2 separate regions of the Homo sapiens genome follow, and region 2 is linked to region 1. The links are contacts of gene promoters, found by promoter capture Hi-C in human tissues and cell types (Jung and others, 2019). All regions are on one chromosome and are shown on one strand. Each heading gives the region's core, a stretch centred on a gene start or on the middle of the fragment in contact. The rest is flanking DNA. Distances are from core to core; before and after follow the strand shown. Region 1 holds the start of ZNF879 (zinc finger protein 879). Region 2 overlaps RUFY1 (RUN and FYVE domain containing 1).

Region 1 (4,476 bases), core at 729-3,228:
CATTTCAGCCAACTTGAGCAGTTCCATCTTCTGTGACTTGTAGCAAATAACACATGCCAACCTTTTATTCCGTCTTTTCTGGCCACTTTTAGGGGTTCCTATTTATCCTCAGAGTTGTGATATTTCATCGAGGATGTATTTTTTATGGGCCATCCCTACCCTAGCTCATTCATTATGCCAAACTCCCTACATTTTATTTACTCTGAAGACTCAGGGCTTCCTCAGCTTGAATGTGTTTTCTGCTATATCTCTATCACTATTTCTGTATGTAATCAATCTGTTATTATTCCCCCTCCCCATTTTCTCTGCTTTCTTCTGAATCTTTTTATTAGATTTTGGGTATCAGAGCACTTGTCTCCTGCATGTCTTCCAAATGTTTCCTCAATTTCTGGTGTTCTGATGGTATTTTTCTAGAGTTGCATTAGATTTGCTCCTTTGAAAATTATATGTGTTTGGGGTTACTTTGAAGAATATGAAGAGAAAAAGGGAGGTAATCATGGGTACTCAGTCTGGCACCTTTTACTTTGTAAATCTCAATGCTATGTTGTTTTGTCAATAATGGTCTATAACTGTCATATCTTTATTATTATTATTTTAAAATAATAATTAAATATAGAAATAACATATGGTCCAGAAATGGAATTGCCCATGTGTTAATTCTACATTTAATTTTTTTTTGAGGAACTGCCATACCGTTTTCCAGCGCAGCGCTACCATTTTACATTCCCACCATTAAGGCACAAGGATTGTTTTCTGGTTTTCTTTTTTTTCCAAATTTTATAATAGCCAACCTAATGAGTGTGAAATCGCAGTGGATGTTTGATCTGCTTTGATCTGCATTCCCCTAATGATTAGTGATGTGCATTATTATCTTTTAACAATATAAAACATCCATTTTGTTCGATTTAATTATTTTTACATTGCAATAATCTTTGTATTGTTGTAACATCGTGATCCAAGATTTCTTTTTCATATTATCTACCTGATATCTCTTAGTCCCTCTCTGCATTTTCTATCTTCAAGTACCCTTTGTGTTTAGGTTTGTCTCTGTAAACGCTAATGTTTGATATTTTAAAAATCAACACTTTCTGAGCACATAGTATTTGGCGTGTACAGTGCCGGTCACCGAGGATGCAGTTGTGATGATAGCGCTGGGAGTTGGGCTTTATTTTACGTTTTAAAGAAGTCACTTCAAAAGAAGTGAGTGCCATGAAGAGGGAAATACTAGGCTTATGCTTTTGTTTTACTCTGAGTGCCAGTAAATATGTAAAGATTACAAAAATTTATTTATTTATTTATTTATTTATTTGAGACAGAGTCTTGCTCTGTCACCCAGGCTGGAGTGCAATGGCGCGATCTGAGCTCACCGCAACCTTCGCCTCCCAGGTTCAAGCGATTCTCCTGCCTCAGCCTCCCGAATAGCTGGGATTACAGGCATGTGCCACCACGCCCGACTAATTTTTCGTGTTTTCGTAGAGACAGGGTTGCACCATGTTGGCCAAGATGGTCTCGGTCTCCTGACCTTGTGATCCGCCCACCTCGGCCTCCCAAAGTGCTGCGATTACAGGCATAAGCCACCGCGCCCGGCCGAGATTATAAAATTTAGACATAATTCATTTTTAATTAAAATCGCAGAATGGACTGTAATAGTTCTGTCACCACCTGCGAATAATCAGCAGCGGCTAGTCTTCCAGATTTAAAAATTCATACTCACTTTTCCGTCTTACTATTTTTGTCATTCTAATTACGAATACAATGGGTGGTTTAGCGGAGGGAGAGTAGTTGGAGCCCAAGCTGAGGGACTCGGCTTCAGCCTTCTCGAACTCCACAGCCCGACCGCGTTCTCCGCTCTCGGCGCTGTGGTTCTCTCTCGGACACCGTAAGTGGTGGTGCCGCAGCGACGTCTGGGAAATGAAGTCCGGAGGGACAAACGCTGCGGTTCAGCCAGGGAAACCCGTCGGCTCTCCGGCGCGCAGGCGCAGTTGCGCCCGGCAGCGACGGGAAACGTCTCTGAATTAGGTGTTCCGCTCGCCTCTTGTGCGGTGTGGAGCTGCGCGCCCCCCGCCGAGGCGGGCCCAGGTACAGGCTGCCGGTGAGGGCGGGCCCGGGGCGTGCGGCTGCCGCGGCGGGACCAGGACGAGGGCTGGCCTCTGCGCGTGTCTGCCGAGTCCCCGGCTCCGGGCGTCCGAGCCGGGGCGGCCTCGGCAGGTGAACCCGGCCCCGGAGGGGGCGTGGCCTGGGAAGGGCCTGGCGGAGGCCGGGAGGGCGCTTCGACGCCGCTGGACTCCTGGGCCGCAGCCTGGGCCGGACTCCGGGGGAAACGGCTCCAGAACAGAAACTGCAAAATGCCGCCTCGGTTCAGGGTCCGGAGCCCTCCGGGCGGTTTTTCGCTCTTAGTGTTTGTGGGTTTAAGCCTCCCCCTACTCCGTTTCCCGGAGTTTAAACTTTAGATTTACTCGTTTTTGGCAGTCTTGCACGTTTGGCAGTGTTTTCCTACAGCCAGTCCTAGAGTGATTTAACTATTTCTTTTTTTATTTACCGTAACCATGTCCACTTGCTACGTTTCTTCCCATTTCTCTAAATTTTAAATCAATTTCTAGCTAGTGATGCTGTTTTCTTGCGCCCTTGTTTTTTTGGGGCCAGGGAGAATGGGTAACGCTACCTTTAAGCAGCTTTGATAACTGTTTTTGATAAAGGAAGTAAATCTTACAAGAGGAAGAAAAGAGGACTAATTTTTGGTTGGCTGTTCCTAAAAAAGAGCATCAGTTCTTCAACTGCTGTTTTTCGTATTGAACAACATCCAAGTGCAGATGTGTGGAATATTGTGTCATTTCCTATTACTTTATCTGAATGAGCCTTGCCTGATTCTGCCCTTGACCCTGTTAAGGCACGGCAGATGGTCTTCATCCCTTCGCTCCTTTCGTCTTTATCGTAAAGCACTGGCAGAAAGGTAGCAGGCCCGGTGACTCTGAACCTGCTTCCCACACTGGTTTAAGTGGCCGGACTTAGGGCCCCTCTGGCCTGGGCAGTTCCAGGCTCCTTCTCTGCAGGTGCTCAGCTTATGGCTTCTAACCTGGTCTGGCCTAATGAGGGTGGGCATGCAGGCTGGATGAAAAGACCTCACAGCTTTTTTCTCCATTCCAGGTGCCTTCTCCAAGAGAGGCAGCAGGGAGGGAGAAATGGCAAGGAGGTTGCTGCCAGCCCATGTACAGGTGAGTGAAGGCTTCTTTTTGCTTGAACTGCCTTCAGGGTCTAGACGTGGTAAACTTCTTCATCTGTTGTTGAGCTTCTCTACCCAGTGAAGCTCAGGGAAGGACCAGAGGGCTTGGTAGCTGAGAAACTCTGGAAGGAAGGTGTTTCCCTTGCCTCAGAGCCTGTCTCATGCTTTTTTTTTTTTTTCTTTCCCTTTTTTGAGACAGGGTCTCACTCTGTTACCCAGGCTGGAGTGCAGTGGCACGGACATGGCTCACTGCAGCCTCAACCTCCCTGGTAGCTGGGACTACAGGCATGTGTGCCACCACACCCAGCTAATTTTTGTATTTTTAGTAGAGACCAGGCTTCAACAAGTTGGCAAGGCTGGTCTTGAACTCCTGACCTCAAGCAATCTGCCCGCCTCAGCCTCCTAAAGTGTTGGGACTATGGGCGTGAGCCACCGCGCCCGGCCCCCAGTCTCATGCTTTTTGACAAAGAATTTAATGGGGCTCCAATGCCAGGCCACTGCCACTACCAGAGCTTTGTGAAAGATCCAGGTGTTTTTGCCCTGTGGAGGACAAAGACACGGAGGAGTTAAATAATTCCTTCCTAACACGGGGAATTTGAAAAAGAGAGGCCCTGTATTCCCAGGACCTTGGGAGGCCAAGGTGGGCAGATCACTTGAGGTCAGAAGTTCAAGACCAGCCTGACCAACATGGTGAAACCCGGTCTCTACTAAAAATACAGAAGTTAGCTAGGGATGGTGGTGCATGCCTATAGTCCCAACTGCTCTGGAGGCTGAGGCAGGAGAATCACTTGAACCCGGGAGGCAGGGGTTGAAGCGAGCGGAGATCATGCCACTGCACTCCAGCCTGCGTGACACAGCGAGACTCCGTCTCAAAAAAAAAAAAAGCCAGGTGTGGTGGGTCTGGTGGTGCGCTCCTGTAATCCCAGTTAGTCCGGAGGCTGAGGCAGGAGAATCACTTGAACCCGGAAGGTGGAGGTTGCAGTGAGCTGAGATTGTGCCATTGCACTCCAGCCTGGTGACAGAGCAAGACTCCATCTCAAAAAAAAAAAAAAAAAAACAAAGAAAGAAAAATATGTCTGAAGGAGATAAGCTTTGTACGCCTTTGTGATTCTGTACAGGATGCTCAATTCAGCATTTCTAGAGTATGAACAAAGTGCAAACAACCTAAACATCCAGTGCTAGGGGAGTTACATAAACTAGATCATCTGTACACTGAACTACTGGGCAGCATGTAAACAGTGGTGACCAGGATGCTG
Region 2 (4,476 bases), core at 1,037-3,536, 540 kb after region 1:
CTTTCTGTGGGGATAAAACTTTTAAAAATTAAGAAAAAAAAGTTAACCTAATTTGCTAAAATGTTTTAAAATTAGTGTTAATAATATATTTCATGGAACCCGTATATCCAAAATATCATTCAACACATATTCAATATTTAAAAGCCTTATTAGGCCAGGCGCGGTGGCTCACGCCTTGTAATCCCAGCACCTTGGGAGGCCGAGACGGAAGGATCGCTTGAGCTCAGGAGCTGGAGACCACCCTGGCCAACATGGTGAAACCCTGCCTCTGCTAACAACACAAAAATTAGCCGGGCGTGGTGGCGCATGCCTGTAATCCCAGCTACTCGAGTGGCTGAGGCAGGAGAATCTCTTGAACCCAGGAGGCGGAGGTTGCAGTGAGCTGAGATTGCACCATTGCACTCCAACCAAGGCTACAGGGTGAGATTCCATCTCAAAAATAAATAAATAAATAAATTAATTAATTAATTAAAACAGATGCAAAGGTTCTGAGTGGGACCAACCTTCCTCAGCTTGAGAAAGACTCCAGGTAACAGGTGTGCTAAGTGTGCTGAGGGAGAGGAGGGGAGGACATGAGGTCAGGGGAGTAGGGAGAGGCTGGACCATATATGTCCTTAAAGGTCAGATGAGGAGTTGCATTTTATTCTTAGTGTCTTTGGAAGATCCTAAAGGGAGAAATGTGTCCTAACTTCAGTTCTTAAAAGAATTTCTAGCTATGTAGAGAACAGATTGTAATGGTGGGGAGGTGACAGTATTAGGAGCAGGAAGACCAATTACAGCAGTACAGATGATGAGGATCTGAAAAAAACAAAAAAAAATAAATCCTTGATTTTGCCATCAAGGAAAAAAAGGGGGAAGAATTTCATAGTAGATGAGCCTATAAGGCAACTGTTTTTTTCTTTCTTTTTTTTTTTTTTTTTTTTTTTTTGAAGAGTCTCGCTCTGTCCCCCAGGCTGGAGTGCAGTGGTGCAATCTCGGCTCACTGCAAGCTCCTCCTCCCAGGTTCACGCCATTCTCCTGCCTCAGCCTCCCGAGTAGCTGGGACTACAGACGCCCACCACCACTCTCGGCTAATTTTTTTTTTATTTTTAGTAGAGACGGAGTTTCACCGTGTTAGCCAGGATGGTCTCGATCTCCTGACCTCGTGATCCACCCGTCTCGGCCTCCCAAAGTGCTGGGATTACAGGTGTGAGCCACTGTGCCCGGCTGAGGCGCCTGTTTTATTCTATGGGCAATACATACTTCCAGAAAGAGCACAGTAAGCATATCAGAGAAACTCTGTTGCCAGAGAAAGAGAGACTAATTTATTACATGGCCTCTCCCAGTCCCCAAGAGTAAATCAAGAAGGATTAAGCAGGCCGGGCGCTGTGGCTCACGCCTGTTATCCCAGCACTTTGGGAGGCCGAGGCGGGCAGATCACAAGGTCAGGAGTTCAAGACCAGCCTGGCCAACATGGTGAAACCCCGTCTCTACTAAAAATACAAAATTAGCCCGGCGTTGTGGGCACCTGTAACCCCAGCTACTCAGGAGGCTGAGGCAGAGAATTGCTTGAACCCGGGAGGCAGAGGTTGTAGTGAGCTGAGATTGCACACTGCACTCTAGCCTGGGCAGTAGAGTAAGACTCCATCTCAAAAAAGATTTTTAAAAAAGGATTAAGCAGTGAAGTTTAGCAGCTTTCACTTCCACTTGGCTTTTGTGGGGAGAGGCTGTGGGTCCCTGAAGAAATTTTGCAACCTGTTCTTATGAATAACACTTTTGTTTTTCCTTTTAGTTAAGAAGAGTTTTATTGGCCAAAATAAATCATTCTTTGGTCCTTTGGAGCTGGTGGAGAAACTTTGTCCAGAAGCATCAGATATAGCGACTAGTGTCAGAAATCTTCCAGAATTAAAGTGAGTGAGAAGTAGTTCTGCCAATTTGATGATTTTAAAAACTCCCTCATATTTACTCATTTCTCAATTCCTTGCTGATGAAGCCCTTTCTAATTGGAAAGAGCTCTGCTGCTCATTATCCACATGATCTCTAGCAAGACTTGACTCTCTCTGAGCCTCAGTTTCCTTTTCTTTAAAATGGGGACAGTGATTCCTGCTTGCCACACAGGCCAAATAGGTTGAAAAGGTGTTGTCAACCAAAGGGCACTCACAGGAGGAAAAGGAACTACTGGTACACTCCTGGAATCACTGCTTCAGACACAGGTGGGCAGTTTTCTGAATAATACATTTTGGGCCAGATTGTAGATTCCAGGCCCAAGGACATTTGTAATTTGTTAGGGTGGGACTAACGAATTATTTGCCATGTCTGGATTTGTCCTTGGGATCGCTATGCTTAGGCTCAAAATCAAAAACAGTCCAGAACACAAATAAGTCATCTTCATGGAATTTGGCATCTAGAAAGGGTCTTAGGGATCCTTGAGCCAATGCAAAAGAACCCTCTGCAGAGTTTCCCAGACGGGACTGGACTGTTGAGCGTTTATTTGACCCTTCTCCTAGGGAGCCTGCCTATTCCATTTTCAGATAATAATAATAATAGCCACTGCCCTCAGGACCTGCTCAATGACAGGCATTGTGCTGAGAACATTCCTTCTCATTTATCTCATTTAATCCTCCACAGCCATCCTCTAGGATAGCTGTTAGTGTCCTCATCTACAAGTGTGGGAACTGAGACTTAGAGTGGTTGAGTAACTTGCCCGAGGTGCCTTGGCAGGTGAGTGATGGAGCAGGAAGAGGACACAGGTCTGTTATGCCTTGAAGCCCTCCAAATCCCATGAAACTCCATTGCTGCCAAGCCCTGTGCATTCTTCTCAAGATTAGATTTAAGCCCTCTATGCAAATTCTGCCTGCCCGGCCTACATCGCTTATATTTAAAGCCTTTTGCACCTGCCAAGCTTTCAAATGTTTATTTCATGACCTTTTTTTTTTTGAGAAGGAGTCTCACTCTTGCCCAGGCTGGAGTGCAGTGGCACAATCTCAGCTCTCTGCAACCTCCGCTTCCTAGGTTCAAGCGATTCTCATGCCTCAGCCTCCTGAGTAGCTGGGATTACAGGCACGTGCCACCACACCCAGTTAATTTTTGTATTTTTTGTAGAGACAGGGTGTTGCCATGTTGGCCAGGCTAGTCTCAAACTCCTGACCACAGGTAATCCACCTGCCTCGGTCTTCCAAAGTGCTGGGATTACAGGCGTGAGCCACCACACCCGGCCTTAATGACCTTTTTCATGAGCCTCTCAAGTCTACTGCCCTGCGTCTTCAGTTGTTCTTTATATGGTACAATTTCTCATACCCTTCCTGTCCAGCTCACTCACTCCCTCAAGAGTAAAGCACCTACACAGACGGCGTCCTGATGTTTTCTTTTTTTTTTTTTTTTTGAGATAGAGTTTCGCTCTTGTTGCCCAGGCTGGAATGCAGTGGCGTGATCTCGGCTCACTGCTACCTCCACCCCCTGGGTTCCAGCGATTCTCCTGCCTCTGCCTCCCAAGTAGCTGGGATTACAGGTGCCTGCCACCAGGCCCAGGTAATTTTTGTATCTTTAGTAGAGATGGGGTTTCACCACATTGGCCAGGCTGGTCTCCAACTCCTGACCTCAGGTGATCCATCTGCCTCAGCCTCCCAAAGTGCTGGGATTATAGGTGTGAACCACTGTGCCTGGCTGTTTTTTTTTTTTTTTTTTTTTAAGACAGTCTCTCTGTCGCCTAGGCTGGAGTGCAGTGGTGGTGCAGTCTCTCAGCTCACTGTAAGCTCCACCTCCCAGGCTCAAGTGATCTTTCCCACCTCAGCCTCCCAAATAGCTGGGACTATAGGCTGAGGCAGGAGAATTGCCTGAACCCAGGAGGTGGAGGTTGCAGTGAGCAGAGATCACGCCACCACTCCTGCCTGGATGACAGAGTGAAGTGAGACTCCATCTCAAAAAAAAAAAGAAAAAAAAATCATCTGCACTTTGACCCAGCAATTCCCCTTACATACATTTTATCCTACACATGTAACACATGAAAATGACACATGTACAGAATGATCTATTGCAGTCGTTATTGGTAACAGGAGATTAGAACCACCCTAGTTTTTTTTAACCCAGCTAAATAAATTATGGTGCTGTCCAATAATGACACACTAAAGCTATAAAAAAAGTAAAGTCCTCTGTGTACTGATATGGAAAGATTTTCAAGATGACAGATACTCAGCGAAATAATCAGGTTGAGAACTGCATGTAAAATATGTTAAATTTTTTTGTAAAAAGAGAGAGAAAAATAATTTATATTTGGTACCTGTTTTCATGTGTAGAAACATGTTTCGGAAATGAACTTAAACAGAGGACACTATATTAGTGTATAGGGGAGGGGGATGGGAAGGTGGAGGACAAGGAGACAAGTATATGCCTTTTAATACTTTCTAGGTTTTCTTTTTTTTTTTTTTTTTTTTTTTTTTTGAGACAGAGTCTCACTCTATCGCCCAGCCCAGGCTGGAGTGCAGTGGCACAATCTCGACT

Evidence for each region. Contacts are between HindIII fragments. The study calls those that stand out against the background at their distance.
Region 2: a fragment that was not itself captured here is called in contact with the fragment with the promoter of ZNF879 in region 1 in 1 of the 25 tissues and cell types used here (dorsolateral prefrontal cortex).

The regions. Positions count from the first base shown.
Region 1 is chr5:179,021,826-179,026,301 of GRCh38, forward strand. It overlaps ZNF879 (zinc finger protein 879), which reads left to right and starts at 1,979. Exons shown (of 5, transcript NM_001136116.3): 1 at 1,979-2,079; 2 at 3,145-3,212. The coding sequence starts at 3,180. RefSeq lists an enhancer at 1,607-2,108. The HindIII fragment of the contact is 17,237 bases long and covers 1-4,474 here.
Region 2 is chr5:179,560,776-179,565,251 of GRCh38, forward strand. RUFY1 (RUN and FYVE domain containing 1) reads left to right here. Exons shown (of 18, transcript NM_025158.5): 3 at 1,772-1,889. All of the region lies in intron 4 of LOC128966623 (a long non-coding RNA gene), which reads left to right. Among named protein-coding and RNA genes, the nearest start is that of RUFY1, 12 kb to the left of the region's middle. The HindIII fragment of the contact is 4,656 bases long and covers 1-4,476 here.